Regions from separate parts of the Homo sapiens genome. Here region 1 is linked to region 2. Evidence: promoter capture Hi-C in human tissues and cell types (Jung and others, 2019). All regions are on one chromosome and are shown on one strand. The core of a region is centred on a gene start or on the middle of the fragment in contact, and the rest is flanking DNA. Distances in the headings are between cores, read along the strand shown. Region 1 holds the start of PSMD12 (proteasome 26S subunit, non-ATPase 12). Region 2 overlaps PRKCA (protein kinase C alpha).

Region 1 (2,700 bases), core at 116-2,615, 640 kb before region 2:
AGGCCAGGTGTTTGAGACCAGCCTGGGCTACGTAGTATAGCTGCTATCTCTACAAAAATAAAAAAAAGGTAAAATTTGTTTCTCCTCTACATTACAGATTATAGCTGAGATATTGTCTTATTTTGCTTGTAGATGGTTTATATTTTCCCTGATTTTCATTGCAGTTAAAACAAACAAAGAGATCTATTCAGCATCTATAAAGCGATGTCGGCACTAATTAAATTGAGAACCACTAACATAATAGATAAACCACTCCAAGATTTCCCGTTTTCCTGTTTGCTTTCCAGGCTGCTGTTGACCATATGCCCACACCAAACACAACCTCATTCCCATTTTCTTTACTTTTCTTTTTCTTTTTTTTTTTTTTTTTTGAGACGGAGTCTTGCTCTGTCGCCCAGGCTGGAGTGCAGTGGCGCAATCTCGCCGGCTCACTGCAAGCTTCGCCTCCTGGGTTCACGCCATTCTCCTGCCTCAGCCTCCCGAGTAGTTGGGACTACAGGTGCCCGCCACCACGCCCGGCTAATTTTTTGTATTTTTAGTAGAGACGGGGTTTCACCGTGTTAGCCACGATGGTCTCGATCTCCTGACCTCATGATCCGCCCGCCTCAGCCTCCCAAAGGGCTGGGATTACAGGCGTGAGCCACCGCGCCCGGCCTCATTCCCATTTTCAAGGATCCTAAGCTTTTTTAAGATCTCAAGCTATTTTCTAGGGACCAGCATGGTATGAATGATAACACATAAAACGTGTAAGGCCCTTAAGAATTGAAATTGTCTCACATGTCATCTAGTTTGATGCTCACGAAAATCCTATAGGGATAACAAATATGTCTTTTTAACTTTTCTTTTTACCAACTTAGTGGATTACAGTGAAAATGAAAACAAAGAGAAAAACCACTTTGCTTATTAAATGACTGAGCTGCTGCCATATCTTCTCTTAGGAGCTTTCAGAGATCCCACAGAGTAAGCCACCAAGATTCTCAAGTAGATAAAACCTTAGAATTTTCTATTTTAAGGTTTATTTTAGCCTCCTGATGTAGAGATGAGAAAACCGAGATCCAAGAAAAGCGACTGGCCACGGTCCTGAGAAATCATATTTCGAAGCAGGGGTGTAGGGATATATGAGATGGTCTGTTCTATTACACTCGCTTTTCTCATCGCAAATTTTAGGTAAAAAGTCTGATGTTCCCAGAGACAAAACCTGACGCTGCAGGCTGGAGTGGCGAGTCCCGCCCCGCGCGCCTCAAGCCCCACCCCCAGGCTGTCCGCGGCAGTGCCTGAGTGGCAACCAGCGCCGGGGACCTCGAGGGGTCCTTTGCGTGGGCTCCCGATGGGCTGCCTGAGCGGGTGCGCGGGCAACTTCCGGTGTGGGTGACGAGTGGTGGCCGAAGCAGGGGGACAGCAAGGGACGCTCAGGCGGGGACCATGGCGGACGGCGGCTCGGAGCGGGCTGACGGGCGCATCGTCAAGATGGAGGTGGACTACAGCGCCACGGTGGATCAGCGCCTACCCGAGTGTGCGAAGCTAGCCAAGGTGAGGAGAGGCCGGCTGGCTGTTGGCGGGCGCCAGGGGCTGAGTCACGGCGCGGAGCCTGCTTAGGCCTCAGGGGGCCTGCGGGCTGGAGCGTGCACCCCCCAATGCCTGTCCAGCCCTAGTTGGGCCTGCACGAGTGGGAGACCCCAGGTCGGCCCGGCCAGGGCTGCGGAGTACGCCAGCGCCTATAGCTTCCCAGACCCTCCCCAAAACAGATGGTCACTTCCCTCCGTGGGACTTAGGGCTCCGTTTAACTTTTTGCCGTTTCTTGGATGCTGTTTAAGTGATATTTACCTTAGTAGTTTCCCAGGGGTTAAGGCCGCTTCAGTATTAAGGCTAGATCAGAGAGTTTCGTTCTGTTGCTGTTGCTCAATCAATTTATGTCGTTACATCGTTTGTGGATCATGGCTATGTGCCTGGTCTTTGGCCAGGAGAAGGGGCAGGAAAGTGATAGTACGAAGATGACTAACACAGGACCCTGTCCTTTAGGAGTTGATGTACGTGATGAATTAGTCAAGTCATGCATGGTGGTGAGGGCCATACAAGGGGAAAGTGTTACTGGAACACCGAGAAGGAAGCTATGCATTCTTAATGGTGCCATAAGGGAAGGTTTTACAGGAAGGCTGACGTTTGTATTGGGTCTTGAGGAATTAGTAAGATTGAGGTGGGGTGGAGTCATTACTGAAGACGGAACTACAGAAGTAAAGACAAGTAGGCACTATAAGAGTTTAACGGGCTTTCCAAGAAACAAGGATGGAGAAAGGTGATAAAGTTGGTACGTATGTATATCTTAGGTTCAGTATGCTTGCTGAGGGGGAGCCACAAATTCATTAAGAGCTTTCTAGCAGCTAGCATCAACAAACATCAGTTACATAAGGGTGGGAAAACTCAGCCGCCTCCAATGCCAGACAGATAACAATAACTGATATTTGTTGAGTAGTTTCTGCAGTGTCAGGCACCGTGCTTACATGCACTAAGCCATTTGATCCTCACCTCAGCCCTATGCGATGGCTATTACTATTATCCTTATTTTACAGGTAAGAAAACTTGGGCTAGAAAAAGTTGAATCACATGCCCCAAGATCATACAGCTAGTAAAGTGGTGAAGCCAAGAAGCAAACCCAGGCAGACCGATTCTAGATTCTGGAGCTGGTGCCCTCACACACCATGC
Region 2 (2,700 bases), core at 103-2,602:
CTCTGGCCTGGGTGATAGAGTGAGACCCTGTCTCGAAAAAAAAAAAAAAGACAGTGGTCCTGTCCTGGATTCACCGGCTTCCCACACGACAGAGAGAAGGCTGAGTGCTTTGATGGCTGAGGAGGACACTCGCTCTGCTCTGTCTCTCGGCTTATTTCCCACCACTCCCTCCGCCTCGGTCCCAGCCATGCCAGCCTGCCGCAAGCTCCCACCTGTCTCCTGCCTTGGGACGCCAGCTCCGCCCTTCCCTCTTCTGCTGTTCACAGTCATCCTCCACAGTGGTCTTCCTGAAACCCCAACACTCCTTCCTTCTCCCAGTTAGCTTTCTTCCCGGAAACCGTTGCCACCTGACTGCAAGTCTGGGAGGGCAGGGGTCTTGCTGTTCTGTTCACCTTCAAAGTCCAACTCAAGTGCCTCCTTTTGGTTTCTCTGGAATTTCCAACCTGCAGCAGACAGGGCCCCACCCGTATCCCCTGAGCTTTCTGTCCTGCACACCTGCGAACACCTGAGCTTTCTGTCCTGCACACCTGCGAACACCTGCGCTTTCTGTCCTGCACACCTGCGAACACCTGAGCTTTCTGTCCTGCACACCTGCGAACACCTGAGCTTTCTGTCCTGCACACCTGCAAACACCTGAGCTTTCTGTCCTGCACACCTGCGAACACCTGAGGGTTCCATTCAGACCACTCCTGCAGAGGGAGCCCGAGGTGCCCGAGTTATGGGAACAGGAAGCCTGTTCCAGAATGTTCTTCCAGCTCACAAGAAGACCGAGCTCCAGCTGCCCACAGTGGTCATCAGCTTGAGAACACAACCTTGGCTAGGTCCTACCCTTACCTGGCTCCCATCTCTACTCCCCACCCATGTCTCCTGGGATCCCTTCAGGAATGAACTTCTCAAAACCATGGGGCTACGTCAGCTTCTGGGGAACTTAACACACATTCCTTCTTGGAATTTTTTTTTTTTTTTCTAGACAGGGTCTCACTCTGTCGCCCAGGCTGGAGTGCAGTGGCATGATCATGGTTCACTGCAACCTCAACCTCCTGACCTCAAGTGATCCGCCCATCTCAGCCTCCTGAGTAGCTGGGACTACAAGCATACATCACCACACCCAGCTAATTTTTTTTTTTTTGTAGACATGCGGTTTTACCATGTTGCCCAGGCTGGTCTCAAACGCCTGAGCTCAAGTGATCCACCCACCTCAGCCTCTCAAAGTGCTGGGATTATAGGTGTGAGCCACCACACCCAGCCTCTTCTTCTTGGATTTATTGATCTGTCTTCCTCACTAGCCTGTGAGATCCTAGGAGGTAAGGACCAAGTCTTACTCAAGTTTGTATCTTGAGACCAAGCACTATATCAGGCACATGCATTCAAAACTCAGAGTTCTCTCTCTCATTCATTCACATTTGTGCTCATTAAGCACTAAGACTGACAGAACTGACAGAGGCCAACTTGTAGCCAGCACTAGTTGGCCAGATGACAAACTAACATAAAAAGGCAGCTGATAGTCAGGTGAGCTGGTGCAGACAAGCAGCCCAGAACTCCATGCATTTGCACCTTCATACATAATCTGAACTCCTTCTCTCAAGCAATCACTGTTCATGCTGGGACAGCCACAGAGAAGTGCTGGGAGGGCTCTCTGCCTTTAGGGTGGTTGGCCACATGATGACCCTCCCCAGAGGCCACACGAGACTAGTTAGCCAGGCCAGCAAGCTGAAACCATGCCCTTGGAAGGGTTTCTCTGAAGGGCTATTCCTCTGCTGAGAAGTCTGGCTTGCCCAAGATCCAGCTGGGATCTCTGGCTCAAGAGCAACAGTGAGCCCTGAGCTGACCATTTTTCTTTCTCTGAGCTTTTTAATGTATTGTTTGGCAACTGGCCTCCCAGCAGAATTAAGAGACCTGCCCTTCCTGGCTTGCATATTGTTGACATAACTCTAGTTGTCATGACTATAATTCAGACTTCACCAGGAGTGCAAATAAAATCAATATACGTCTAGGGATAAAGCTGAAGCTAACAGCCTAACTGCAGAGATTTCAGAAAACCTGAGGAAGCAGAAGAGTAAGTGTGCTGGCATCCTTTACTCCAGCAATACAAACACGGCCCAACGTGGCCAGACGCCCTGCTGGGGGCCTGAGCAAATGGAAAATTCTGAATGCAGAGGATGAAATGCAGAAACACAGAATGTCCCCTGAAGATGAATGAATGCTCAGAGCAGAGCATGCACTGGGCTGCTGACCTCAAGCAGATATTAACTCATTAGAAACGCTCCTGCTGATGTGTCCCAAATCTTGAGTCCATCTCACTCATTTCCAAGTTAGGTAAAGAAAGCGGTGGGGGACCAGGCTCTGAGCAGCAGTCCACAGGCTGGAGACCCCCATGGCTCTCAGTGCTGCCATCCTCCTGTGAAACTGTCCTCCACCCCTGCACCAGGAGGAATCTCCTTTCAGCTCTGATGATGTCTGTTCAGTTCTTTTTTTTTTTTTGAGATGGAGTCTCGCTCTGTCGCCCAGGCTGGAGTACAGTGGCGCGATCTTGGCTCACTGCAACCTCCACCTCCCGGGTTCACACCATTCTCCTGCCTAAGCTTCCCAAGTAGCTGGGCACTGGTCCTAGGACCAGCAGCATCAGCTAGAGGCTTGGCAGAAATGCAGACTCTTGGGCCCCATCCCAGATCTACTAAGTCCAAACATGCATTTTAAACA

What was found. Contacts are between HindIII fragments. The study calls those that stand out against the background at their distance.
Region 1: a contact is called between the fragment with the promoter of PSMD12 here and a fragment that was not itself captured in region 2, in 1 of the 25 tissues and cell types used here (dorsolateral prefrontal cortex).

What each region holds. Positions count from the first base shown.
Region 1 is chr17:67,365,242-67,367,941 of GRCh38, reverse strand. It overlaps PSMD12 (proteasome 26S subunit, non-ATPase 12), which reads left to right and starts at 1,365. Exons shown (of 11, transcript NM_002816.5): 1 at 1,365-1,530. The coding sequence starts at 1,423. RefSeq lists enhancers at 1,160-1,469, 1,490-1,549. The HindIII fragment of the contact is 13,722 bases long and covers 1-2,700 here.
Region 2 is chr17:66,724,077-66,726,776 of GRCh38, reverse strand. The region is part of intron 8 of PRKCA (protein kinase C alpha); the gene reads right to left. Among named protein-coding and RNA genes, the nearest start is that of MIR634, 62 kb to the left of the region's middle. The HindIII fragment of the contact is 6,740 bases long and covers 1-2,700 here.